Linked DNA regions of Homo sapiens: all the other regions are linked to region 1. The links are contacts of gene promoters, found by promoter capture Hi-C in blood cells and fetal thymus (Javierre and others, 2016). All regions are on one chromosome and are shown on one strand. The core of a region is centred on a gene start or on the middle of the fragment in contact, and the rest is flanking DNA. Distances in the headings are between cores, read along the strand shown.

Region 1 (3,346 bases), core at 518-3,017:
TAATGATATGTTCCTCATAGGGTTGTGGTGCAAATTAAATAAATTAATATAAAGACCCTAGAAACATGCATGATACATAGTTGATGCTCAGCAAATGCTGCTAGCTAGTTATTATTACTTTAAGTTGTGGTAGAGGCAAGGCAAAATAATTCATATCTGGTGGTGGCCTTAATCTCAATAGCAGGAAATGCTGTTGTAGACCAAGGAAATTGGGGCTGAGTGCCTAGCTTGAATAGAGCGAGAGAAGTTTGAAACACCATCTGTGGACTACAGCACTGGTCCTTAACCCTAGACGTAACATTAAAATTACATGAGGACCTTTTAAAGATACTGACATTTAGGATCCCACCTAGAACAATTAAGTGAGAATGCCTGGAGTGGGCTTTAAAGTTGATCTTTAAGGGCAGCTGCGGTTGAGAATCAAGAAGTAATAGGAAACAAATAAATGAAAAGTTGTGAGTATAGAAAGAAAACAGTTATGGTTATCCAACTCTGCTTTTCTTCATTGATTTCTCTACCAATCTAGCAACTTTTGACTGGAAAGTCCAAATAGTGGGAGTAAGAGAAAGAGAAAGAAACCATACATTCTCCAGTGGTAGGAAATATGCCGCTGAGATTGGGGAAGAAGACAGAACTGAGTTTCAGGCTGAGTAAAAAAGCCCGACCCAGAATAAGATGATGGACTTTGCAAATAGGTCTAGGCAACGTATGTGGAGTGGGATAATATGAGGACATGGAGCGGTTTCTTCTGGGGGTGAGAGAGTGATCAGAAAATAGTAGGCAGAGGGGAATTTCCGAGCTGGAGATTTTGGCTCTTGGGGATAGTGTGATTTCAGTGAAAACTAGTTTTAAGATGAATTGTCAAAACTGAGGACTGAGATAAAATAAAGAAGGTTATTGGAGGAAGTAAATAAAGTGTACAGTCCTGAAAGATATAAGTAAGGGATGGAGAGGAGAGGAAGAGAATTGAAGTCATTGAGGGTAGAAGGAAAAGTGATGCCTACTGTACAATGGTTAAGAGTTACCAGCGTTGAAAACGTCCCAAACACCCTATCTTACATTAAGACAAGATAATAAATATGAAAATACTTTACAAATTGTTAATCACTCTCCAGAAAAAAAAAAGGTGATCTACAGATTATTCATTCACTAAAATACGTACTAGCCAGCTGAGAACAAAAGTTCAATCTTCTTTAAGCTTCATATGTTTAGCTTAATTTGGCGCGAAATCTGATTATTTTATCCAGTATGTCAACATAGAAAAATTTAATTTACAATTTAAACACATTATTTCTCTCTCATGCAAGTATTGAAATTAAAGTTTCTAAAATCAAAAAGGCTTCTAAAGGACACTGCTATATGGAATATTAATGTGGCATATTAACTGGAAGTGGTAATTCCTGAATGACGCCAAAGGCAATTCTCGCCTTTATACTTTCTCCCAGTCAACATACATTATTTTCTTGTTTTTCCTTTTCTATCCTTCCTTTTGCCACAAACAACAAACCAAACAAAAAAGCAAAACAAAACAAAAACCCTTCCTCCTACCAGCAGAGAGCGCTAGCGCCATGCGCGGCATAAGCGCCAAAATGCTCGGGTCTTCTGTGGGTTCTAACCGCCGAGAGCCAAGCACCCTGAGGTTGTCCCAGCTGGGGATCCGTAGTTGACTTGACGTCGCTGAGCAACGGAAGAGTGGGCAGCATTTGCTCTGAACGCTCGTGCGCGCTACCGCCCAGACGGAAGCGGAAGTGCCGGTGGAGCGCGAGTAGGAAGTGGTGAGTTCGGAGTAGAGATGGCCGCGCTTGCACCGCTGCCCCCGCTCCCCGCACAGTTCAAGAGCATACAGCATCATCTGAGGACGGCTCAGGAGCATGACAAGCGAGACCCTGTGGTGGCTTATTACTGTGAGTCTTTCCGAGTGGCCGCGCCCTTTCTTTCCCAGTTGCATTTTAGGGCCCACACACCTCCCTGAGGTTCTTGGGGCATGCCCCGCCCCCCTCGCTTTAAACCTGAGCTTTGACCTCGAGCCTACCCAGGGAACTCCCTGGGTTCCCACCCCCTGGCAGTAGGAATCCCAAAACACCATGGTGTCCACTGCTTCTCCTATCTTGTGCTTAAATGCTCCAGTACTGACTACACAGGCTCTTGAACTGTGGAATATAATCTTCCAAGGTTTTCTCTGTGTGTGTACACACAAGAGCTTCTTGTCTCAAATAGGAATCCTGAAAATAAATTGAGTTAGGTTTAAAACGAAGGTGAGTGTCCGAAAGAAGGAGTGATGTGGATAAAAGGACGATAGACTAGTTGAAAACATAGTAATAAGTGAATATTATTTATGACAGCATGCAAGCCCAATCAGAAACTCATTTGGTTAAATGGGGAGTATCTGCTACTAAATAAGCAGTTGAATTTGACCTTTCCCCACCCAGCTGCTCTCTCCTACCATGCAGAATTTTTAGTTTTGACTTCTTTGAATAATACCCGCTGTTGAGACCTTTGAAAGCAGTATTTTCACTTTGAGTGTTATACGTTGAATTTACAGTTTGATTAAAAAAAATATAGGTTAACTCTGCTCAAACTTGTAGTGAGTAAAGGGAGTGCCAGTAATTCTGTGTTAACTTTATTTTGTATTCTGTACTCTTAACTTTACTGCAAATAAAACAAGTAACTGGACAATTATAATTCTGAAAAGGATATTTAGAGTTGAGAAGTTGGATATAATGCGTCCATTGTTGTGTATATTGTAAGGTTAGCTAAAATCTGGTCACTGTTATCTCTGCCATACTCCAAATGTACCCTGTTTCTCAAATGTGCAAGGCCTTTTCAGACCTACCATCTTCCACTCTCTTGGAATGTGCACCTTTTTCTTGCACTTGGCAAACTCATGATTCAAGATCTAACCCAAATGTCACCACTTCTGTGGGCAGCAAATTGATTATTCTCTGTGCATTACTTCATTTTGTTCAAATTTTACAGCATCATTTTTATTATACTTGTTCTTCAGTTTCCTCAAGCAGGGTCCATATTCATTCAGTATGTGTTCATTGAGCTACCTTTGTATCAAGCATTAGTAGGCGCTGTGACTACATTTGCTGCATTTTTGGAGCTTACATACAATGGAGGTAGAGAGTTTCAACAATATAGAGTCTATCATACATAGAGTATTAAAAGCTTATGAAGACAAATAGAGCAAGGAAAAGGAATAAGAGTATCAGGAGTAGTGGTGGCAGGGAGTGCAGATGGGATTTCAGTTTCATAGTGGTCAGGAACACTTCACTGAATTGACATTTGGGGAAATAAAAGAGTGAAAGGCATACCTTGCACCATCTGGGAAAGAGTATTCTCC
Region 2 (3,346 bases), core at 1-2,500, 1.3 Mb after region 1:
TAATAATAATAATAATTTGAATCGTCTAGCCCTGACTTTCCCTTCTGACTCTTGCTAGTTGCTAGCCCTATCATATAGCCTAAAACAATGCGCATTTCTTAGTGAGGGCAGTCATATCACTTGTGACCTTTTTTATTTTTTTTGTTTGTATTACAGTGCTGTCCATGCTTCCAACACTGAGAGAGGCCTTAATGCAGCAACTGAATTCCGAGAGCCTCACAGCTCTGCTAAAAAACAGGTAAATGCAAGTTACAGCATTTTCTGTTTAAGCACTACACTTAAAGTTTATAGAATGAACTGATAGACTTTTCAAAAATCTTTGTTATTTTTCTATCTAATGAAAGTTTATATAGGCTCAGTAAGAAAAATACTAACTATATCATTTAACCTACATTTAATTTTGTCTATGCTCTACTTTTTTGCATAAAGCATTCAAGGCAATGATATTTGTATGTATTGTTTTTCATATAAATAGACCTTATAGCACTTTGAAATTGTTCACAAATTTAATTATGCAGTGCTTGTGAAATGTGTTCCTGAACCAGATGCTGTGAAGCTAACAAAGTTACGTTAAATATTGTGCTTCTTTCTGAAAGAGCTTACGGTGTAATACAGCATGTGAACATACGTTTTAAATAAATAAGATATACAGGACTTATATCTTAAATTACTAACAAAATGAAATACAAACATAACATGAGCATGCAATACTAATAATTTACATTGCCATGGCAGTTTGCTGTTTCCAAAAGCACTTTCACATATGTAACCTTGTATATTGCATGTAGCATGTGTTGGGGTATTGTAATTTGGTATGATACTGTATTAGTTTGAGAAGACTTCCAGCAGGAAATGGCTTCTTATTTTGATGACAATGATGGGAGGGTGGGCAGGGAAATGGTTTCACTAAATAAATGTTAATCATTGTGGCCTTCCTAAAATAATCACTTGCCTTTAATCACCCTTCAAATAGCCAGGGGAAAAGTAGTTCTATTTCTAAACTGTCTCACTGTGCTAGCCCTGGTGCTAGGTACCTTCCATATATGCTCCCACTTAATTTACACAATATCCCTGTGAGGCGGTTACTATTATTCATTTTGCAGTAGGAATTGAGTGCTCAGACAGGCTACATAACAAGTGGGGAATTTTTTTAAAAACACTTACTATATTCAGAGAATACTTCCCAAAATAACAGTGGATTTGTGTACTTGAGATTTCTTTTATCTGATTAAAACAGAATGCTAGTGATGGGGGTTTTCCATTTTAAATTTCTTCATTCTTAGAGGTAGACAGACCTTCCTTCCTTCTTACAGATATAAGGTTTAGCTTATAAATTAGTTCATACAGTTTTATGAAGAAGAAACATATAAGCAGATTGCTTTTGATCAAATAAATAATTACCATTTGTGTGTACATAGGTAGGAATTGAAAAGAAGTAGATTTTAATTTCCTTTTTGTCATGATGAGAAGGCAAGACAAGTTAAATAAGTGAATAGCATTTTTATACAAGCAACATAATACAGATAAAATAATCGTGGTGGCATTCTTCCTTCTTGGTGAATCTGTTTCCTGCAAGGCCCTATGTTCCATGTGCTTTAGGGGATTTAATAGTTAAGATCAAGTCTCTTTAAGACCTTTTCATCCAAAGGAGGAAGTAGACTAAATAAATTATCGTAATTCCGGACATATTTAGTGCAATGACAAAAAGTAAAAGGAAAATTTAGGAGTATCAAAAAAACCAAAGGATTAATTTTGATAGATTATCCTGGACAGCTTTAAAGAAAAGATGTGATTCTTTTTTTCTTAATCGGTACACAGGGAGGAGAATTTCTTAAATTCTGGAGAATTTAAGGTGGGCCACAGTTCTCCTCATTCAGTTTCCTCTTTAAATATCTCAATGTTACTTCTTCTTGGCTTTCTTTTGATTTGAAATTACTATTTGTAATTTGGTGGGGGGAGAAGGGTAATATCCATTTGAAAAATATTTGCATAAATAAGGGCTTGATCCCTTACAAAGTATCATTAAATAAGGCCTCCAATCTTATGACTGCTTTTATATTAATTTTATATGAGACTCTGGTCTCATATAAGCCTGTTGAGCAAGTTTTTTTTTCTTTAAACTATTTGTGATAATAACTAAGATAATAACTAATGAGAAATAAGTAGATGATTTGATAGTCTTATTTTGCCAACTTCATAACAGCAAATAAACAGTTATCACTGTTTTTGATATTTGGCACTCTTCTTGAAGACTGATAATGGCAATGAAGTTTCAATGGCAAAAACAAAAAAATCTTAAACATCCTCCATCATAAGAGAAGTAGAACACTTCGAAAAGATTCGTTTAATTCTCTTTACTTTTTATTTCTCCATGAAGGTATTTTAGTGACATTAAAGAGTCTGGTTGTATTTAACTTGCAGTTGATTTCCATCAAACAAATCATTTGAAAGGAATATTTGTGTTGAAGGTACTTTTCTCTGTTCTACATAGATTTGGAATCTTTTATGTAGATTTTGGAGTTTTTTAAAAAAAAATAGCATCAGTATTTAAAAATCTACTTTTAAGGTCTAATAATGTTAAGTGTAAACATGAAGAAATGTCCTGGGTAACTATTACTGTCTTCTCCCACCAAAATCATCCCAAATAAAATACAGTTTTTTGTTCGTTTGGTTTTGGTTTTTTTTTAGATAGAGTCTTACTCTGTCGCCCAAGCTGGAGTACAGTGGCACAATCATGGCTCACTACTAAGCACTTTCTATATTGAAATTTTCGGAACCACTGTTTTCTTATCTTTTTTCTTTTAGAATTTTTATAAGAAGTACTTAGAAATTTTTCTGAGGGAGCATTCAAAAAGAGATATGAGTCACTTAGGATACATTAAATACCTCACCTTTGAATTGTGGTTGATTCCCAGTTTAATCCGAATACATATGACATTCTGCCGTGAGTCTTGAACACTAGATTAGATTAAGGTTGCAGCAGTGTCTTGCATGAGTTACTCAACACATTTTCTGAACCTGTGCCATCTAGGAAAGAGGTAACTGAAACTATAGAGTCTGCTCATTGGCAAAGAAAGACAAGAAGCTAGTAGTATCTTTAAAATTGTAATAGTAACTCAATTTCTTGTTGGAATGCAAATTTATGTCTGAAAGTAATAATAAAGAATATGGACTTGTGTTTTCTATATCTGTGGTTTTTTTTATTTCATGTTTTCTAGTAATTTATTTTTATTGTATTTAACAAAAGTGCTGCTCTGTGACAGATTGGAAAGGAAAAGGAAAAAAAATGGATCCTTCCACTAGTGGTTTGAAAAGCACTAAACTACCTCCACATAGTACATCCATA
Region 3 (3,346 bases), core at 332-2,831, 1.3 Mb after region 1:
ATATAGACAAATGCACCATAGGCTACTATAGAGAAGAAAGCCAGGAAGAAGACGGACAGTTAAGGAGAATGGAAATGCTAACTACCAGTGTAGCTATGGCAATTATTATACTAAGAATTTTATTTAAGGTAAGTGTAGAATTACACAGAGATCAAGGTACACAGAAGAGACAAATCATTTATTCATGCAAAAAATATTTGTTGAGGATCTTGAGATGGAGAGATTATCCCAAATTCAGGTGGGTCCTGAAGGCACCCACAGAAGGCAAGAGGCGAAGTGATAACGGAAGGAGAGAGAGAGAGATTTGAAAATGCTGCACTGCTGGCTTTGAAGATGGAGGGATGGGTCATAAATGTCACTTCAGTACCTGGAAAAGGCAGGCTTCCAGAAGTTATTCGGCCCTGCCAAAACTTTGATTGGGGCTCACTAAAATTTCAGACTTCTGGCCTCCAGAACTATAAGAGAATAAACTTGTGTTGTTTTTAGCCACCATGTTTGTGATAATTTGTTACAGCAGCCATAGGAAACTAATACATGCAGCAAAGAGGAAGAAAAACATGCTAAAATAGGAAAAAACTTACAAACCACATCTCTGGCAACACTCTAGTATCTAGACTATATAAAGGACTCTTAAAACTCCACAATAAAATAATAATCCCATTAGAAAAAGACTGTTTTCATCTATTTGTGCTGCGATAAAGGAATACCTGAGGCTGGGTAGTTTATAAAGAGAAGAAGTTGATTTGGCTCACAGTTCTCCAGACTGTACAAGAAGTATGGTATCAGCATCTGCTTCCAGTGAGGGCCTCAGGAAGCTTCCACTCATGGCAGAAGGCAATGGGAGCAGGCATCACATGGTAAGAGAAGAAGAAAGAAAGGAGGGGATGGTATATTCTCATGATAATAATATAGTGAGAACTTGCCACTATAAAAATGATTTATGAGGTATCCTCCCCATGATCCAAACTTCCCACCAGGCCCTGCTACTAATACCAGGGATTCAATTTCAACATGAAATTTGGAGGCGACAAATATCCAAACTATATGAGAAGGCAAAAGACAGACATTTCACCAAAGAAGATAACACACATAGCAAATAAGTACACGAAAAGATGTTTTCACATCATTAGCCGGTAGAGAAATGTCAACTAAAACCACAATGAGGTATCACTACACACCCATCAGCATGACTAAAGTGAAACGTAAAAACAACATCAAATGCTGGCAAGGCTGTGGAGAAGTGATATTACTCATATACTGCTGGTCGGAATATAAAATGGTACAGCCACACTGGAAAATAGTTTGGCAGTTTCTTAAAAAGCTAAACATGCATTTAACTTATGACCCAACAATTCCACTCTTGGGCATTTATCCCAGAGAAATGAAAACCTATGCTCACACAATGTATGTCTGTGTGCACAAATATTCATAACAGCTTTATTTGTAATAGCCAAAAACTGGAAACAACTCAAATGCCCTTCAGTGGGTGAACTGCTAAACAAACTATGGTACACCTGTACCATGGGACACAATGCAGCAATAACAAGGAATGAACTATCGATAATCTCAACAACTTGGATGGATCTCATGGGAATCATGCTGAATGGAGAAAGCCAAGCCAAATGGTTACAGATTCATGTACATAGCATTTTTGAATTATAAAATTATAGACAGAGAACAGATTAGAAGCTGCAGCTATAAAGAGGTAGCACAAGGGAGCCATGTGGTAGTGAAACAGTTCCAGTGGTGGTTATACAAAGCTAAACATGACAAAATTGCATAGGCACGCATACACACACACACACACACACACACACACACACACGTACAAATAAAACTGATGACATCTTAATAAGCTCTGCAGTTTTCCCAATGCATTTTTCCTGGTTTTGATACTGAACTATAGCTATGCAAGATGTTACCACTGAAGGACACTAGACACTTGGGTCCTCCCAGTATATTATTATTGTAATTTCTTGTGAACTTATAATTATTTCAAAATGAAAGTTAAAAAATAAGTACAGGTAAACAAAAAGGATTTTGCAATGGGAATTAAAAAGAGATGTTTAGTGAGTTTAGAGAAATATTTGGTGTTACGGACAATCCCAGAAAAACACTAGGCCAAGAAGGAAGGGTGGTCAAGTGTGTCTAATTCAGCAAGGTGGTGGCAATTTAGGTGGAATGGTGGAGATGAAAACCAGTAGCTTGAACAGTGACTTATCTAAGAGGTTAAATTTTTAACTCCAGCTATACTTTCCCCAACAAACCTCTTAAGAGAGGTAATGTTTTGTCTGCATCTCGAGTATTCTGGTTCTGAGAGCTTGAACATAAGAGCTTACAATTTATTGAAAGCTTACTTTGATCCAGGACTAATTTAAGCATTTTATAAGTATTAATTCATTTCATTTACAAGCCTATAATGATCTTCCCCATTTTACAGATGAGGAAACTGAGGCACAGGGAGATTTTTTTTTATACATGTATATATCTCTCACTAGCGCATGTGAGAGAGCTGGGACTAGGGCATAGACAACCTGGCTCCACTTATTCATTTGTTCAACAAACATTTGTGGAGCACCTACCAAGGGCCAGATTCCAGGGCTCTCTGCCACTGTTCTGCCTCTAACTTCTACTTTAGTAACAACAGACACTTCACCGATCAGCTGCTTTATCAGGGTTTGAGTTTAGAGTGAATCAAGGGACCAAATGAGAGAGAACAGTTGGCAAGAGAGTGAGACATGGAAATTTTAAGGATAAAAAAAATGGCAAGAGGAGTTCAAGGCTGTAGTGAGCTATGATCATGCCACTACACTCCAGCCTGGGTAACACAGCAAGACCCCATCTCTAAAAAAAGTAAAAAATAGGCTGAGCACAGTGGCCCATGCCTGTAATCCCAGCACTTTAGGAGGCCAAGGCAGGTGGATCATCTTAGGTCAGGAGTTTGAGACCAGCCTGGCCAATATTGTGAAACCCCATCTCTACTAAAAATACAAAAATTAGCTGGGCATGGTGATGGGTGCCTGTAATCCTAGCTACTTGGGAGGCTGAGGCATGAGAATCGCTTGAACCCAGGAGGCGGAGGTTGCAGTGAGCCCAGATTGTGCCATTGCATTCCAGCCTGGGCGACAAAGTGAAACTCTGTCTTAAAAAAAAAAAAAGTTAAAAAAAAAAACAAAAACGGCAAGAGAATAAACAAATGGAGGCCATGTGATCAGGATTTTCTGTAAAAATATCTCCTGAAGAGCTCTACATTGGCTATGTGGGCCATCTCAAACCTGCAGAAGAGAATGCAGGGCCGAGTGGAAAGGACGTGAGTGGGATGGGAGATGAGATTCCATGTTGCCTG
Region 4 (3,346 bases), core at 453-2,952, 1.3 Mb after region 1:
CTCACCATGTTGCTTTGGTTGGTCTCGAACTCAGGAGCTCAAGCAATCCACCTGCCTCGGCCTCCCAAAGTGCTGGGATTACAGGTGTGAGCCACCGCTCCCAGCTATGTTTTTAATTTAACAATAATTCATAAATGTTGGCACTTTAAGATAAAAAAATGAATTGAAACACTTCAGAGTTGCAGCACCATGCTGAGAACTGCTGCACTGAACTCTAAAGCTGCCTAAGTCACCCGGTGTCAAGTCACACAAGTCAACTGTAACTCCCTGACTAGCTGTCTGCCTGGCAGGCATTCTCTTTATAGAGAATGGACCAACACCCATGACTGTATATAGTTATAATTAAGAGCACAGACTCTGGGGCCAGCCTGCCTGAATTCAGATCCTAGCTTCACATTGTTTGCTCTTCATTGGAGCTGTTCACAAAAATTCCAATTCTCTTCTCCCTGATGTAGTTAATGGATTATATTATCTGCTGCCTTGAAGTTGGGCATGGCCATGTGACTTGCTTTAATTCTTTTGAGAGCAAAAGTGATGTGTCACTTCTGGGCAAAAGCCAGGAAGCCCTCCTTACTCAAAGTGTGGCCCATGGTCCAGCACTATGGGCATCACCTAGAAGGTTGATAGAAACATGGCATCTCAGGCCCTCCAGGACCTCCTGAATCAGAATGTGAATTTAATAAGCTCCCCAGGAGATGCCTATGCACGTTTAAGTTTGAGAAGCCCTGCCCTAAGGTATGAAGCATTATTCACCATGTTCTCTTCTCTGGCCACAGCAGCTGATGTCCCCGGTGGTGAAGTTTCCTTTAGCCTAGGCTCCTGGCCTGACCTGAGATGGACAAGAAGCAAGGCATGAGAAAAATAAGCTTTGGTTCTAAGCCACTAAAACTTGAAGGCTGTTACATTGGTTTAACTAGCTCCTTCTGAGTGATGTGATCACTTAGCACTCTGTGACCTTGGGCAAGTTACATAATCTCCCTGTGCCTCAGCTTACTTGATGTAAAACAGAGACAGTAACAGAAAATAATATTTTAAACATGATGATCATAAATAAAATGTATTATTTATTCTAAACCCAAATAAAATGATACATTATCTTTTCTCCTTGCCACTCTCTTAAAATGTATACAAGGAAATAAAACATTCTAAGCCAGAAAACATATTTTGGTATCTTAGATTTTTCCTTTACATTTATAGACCAACTTTTCAAAAGGAAAAAACAAAACCATGGTACTGAAGCAATTCACCATGAGCTGTACAATGAGCCACATCATTCGGTTCCAATCACAGAATTTGAACAAGCAGCTTCCAATCTCAGCCTTTTACCTACTCTAGACCAGGGGCAGCTAACATTTTCTCGAAGGGCCAGACGCTAAATATTTTAGGCCTTTGTGAGTCGCATGGTTTGTCACCACTGCTCAACTCTGCCATTGTAGCACACGAGCAGCCACAGACAACACAGAAACAAATGGGCATGGCTGTCATCCAATGTAACTTTATTTATGGACACTGAAATTTGATTGCCATATAAGGTTCATGGGTCACTAAATATTATCCTTCTTTTGATTTTTTTTCAATCACTCAGAATTGTAAGACCCATTTTTAAGTCATGAGTGGTACCGAAACCGGCAGCGGGCTGGATATGGCCCATGGGCCATACTTTGTGGACTCCTGCTCTAGATTCTCAAGTTCATGCTTCAACATGTTAAAGAAAAATTTATTTTGACACTTGTTAAGGTAAGGAAGACTTAATTCAGGACTACAGTGATAGGTTTTAAAACTATCGCAGGTTTTAAAACTATCCCAACAAGAGGAAGAGATCAGGCTCAGCTCTGAATACAACCAGAACATGTGGGGGTTTATAACTAATGGGCAGAGTGAGGGGGTCAGTGATTAGGAAATTACTAAGAGGAGATATCAAGAGTAGAGTTCTTGCAAAATGAACTTAACAGGCTTCTCGTTGAAGGGAGGCCAAGGACTTACACATCAAAAGTAGGGGATGAGAAATTTCATAGATATTGGGGATGTGGGATTCTCTCTAAACTAGCTTAGCAGGATTCTTGCTAAAGCTGGGCTGTATAGGCCCATCAAGAATGGGGGCCAAGGTGGAGGCCTGGTTAAAAAGAGGACTTAGGGCCTGACTGAAGTTTGGTCAAGGAGAGAGCCTTTGTCAAACTACACCATGAAGCCTCCTTAATAGTCATGGATATGTGGTGTTCAACCCAATATCCACTTAGAAATCAGGTGATAAATAGTCACGAGCCTGTTTTCATTAGCTCAACTTGAAGAAAATGTAAGATCCTAAAGATGTCAAACTTTCAGCAGAACTCACCAGTCTAATCCATAAAAATCACGTCGCCCATCGCTCCTTTCCTCACTACACAAAATTAGCAATTTACAAAGGAAATAGTTGGCAGTTGTCTTCATAGATGAAGTCAATGTAGTCTTATTCCTTTGCCAAAAGGCAGAGAAACCAATTCCTGGTGTCTGGTTTCCCTGGGGCTATAAGGCCAGTTCACGTAGGACCACTGGGAAAGACAAGCTTTGGCATCACCACAGATTTTTAACAAGGCGCTATACTACTTTTAAAAAAGATTTAAGTAATTTTTTCAAGAGCTTTGGCTTTTGCTATTTTTACTGACATTTTGAAAGTAGCAGTGCTTACAACATTTTAAGTCTAGATGTCTCTATGGAAACCCAAGATAACTCATATTTTATGACCAAATGACAACCTACCTAGAGTGTTTATCCCATTGGATCACCATAGGTCATCTGCAGTATCAGAAACATCTTAGGTCTATTTTCCAAAACCCTATCTTATCAGGCATAATGAAATTTATATAATTATTACTTTTGCTGAGGAGGAAATTAGGAAGGAAAGAATTTATTTCTCAGGCTTAATTTTGATGCTTATTAAGATATCACTATTTAAAACATTCTTATTAGAAAAATTTTTTTTATCAATTTTGGCAGACAGTAAAAGAGGAAGAATGCAATCAAATAATTTAATAGTTGCTTTGAAATTTATGTCATTAATTTTCCTCCTCTCCTTTCCATCAGTGTCAAATACATTTTCTGTTTAAAATGTAACAGCTCCTCTTCCCACAGACTGCTTATTCATTGCAACAGAGAAAAAAGGTAACTATATAGTGAAGGAATAGGACAACACCTTGACCAGATGACCAAAATTGACATCACCTTGGTGTGACGGCCTTTGTGTGCCTCCAGATGTGATATCCTGTGAGGAACTTAACATCAACCAGCACCTGAATCTAATCACAAGAAAATATCAAATAAATTTAAAACAAGGACCATTCTATTATTTAAAAAAAGAAGAAGAAAACAG

What was found. Contacts are between HindIII fragments. The CHiCAGO score rates a contact against its expected background, and 5 or more counts as called.
Region 2: a fragment that was not itself captured here is called in contact with the fragment with the promoter of VTA1 in region 1 in 1 of 17 cell types (activated CD4 T cells); the score reaches 5.5 in activated CD4 T cells.
Region 3: a contact is called between a fragment that was not itself captured here and the fragment with the promoter of VTA1 in region 1, in 10 of 17 cell types (total B cells, activated CD4 T cells, non-activated CD4 T cells and 7 more). The highest score is 13.8, in total B cells.
Region 4: a contact is called between a fragment that was not itself captured here and the fragment with the promoter of VTA1 in region 1, in 9 of 17 cell types (fetal thymus, activated CD4 T cells, non-activated CD4 T cells and 6 more). The highest score is 15.2, in fetal thymus.

What each region holds. Positions count from the first base shown.
Region 1 is chr6:142,145,496-142,148,841 of GRCh38, forward strand. VTA1 (vesicle trafficking 1) reads left to right here and starts at 1,768. Exons shown (of 8, transcript NM_016485.5): 1 at 1,768-1,904. The coding sequence starts at 1,793. NMBR (neuromedin B receptor) reads right to left here and starts at 1,627. Exons shown (of 4, transcript NM_002511.4): 1 at 1,549-1,627. RefSeq lists enhancers at 1,497-1,791, 1,555-1,694, 1,949-2,469. The HindIII fragment of the contact is 1,973 bases long and covers 1,197-3,169 here.
Region 2 is chr6:143,462,760-143,466,105 of GRCh38, forward strand. PEX3 (peroxisomal biogenesis factor 3) reads left to right here. Exons shown (of 12, transcript NM_003630.3): 3 at 157-238. Among named protein-coding and RNA genes, the nearest start is that of PEX3, 14 kb to the left of the region's middle. The HindIII fragment of the contact is 4,518 bases long and covers 1-3,346 here.
Region 3 is chr6:143,440,686-143,444,031 of GRCh38, forward strand. All of the region lies in intron 1 of ADAT2 (adenosine deaminase tRNA specific 2), which reads right to left. Among named protein-coding and RNA genes, the nearest start is that of ADAT2, 8.3 kb to the right of the region's middle. The HindIII fragment of the contact is 1,537 bases long and covers 814-2,350 here.
Region 4 is chr6:143,421,791-143,425,136 of GRCh38, forward strand. ADAT2 (adenosine deaminase tRNA specific 2) reads right to left here. Exons shown (of 6, transcript NM_182503.3): 6 at 1,042-3,346. Among named protein-coding and RNA genes, the nearest start is that of ADAT2, 27 kb to the right of the region's middle. The HindIII fragment of the contact is 1,676 bases long and covers 865-2,540 here.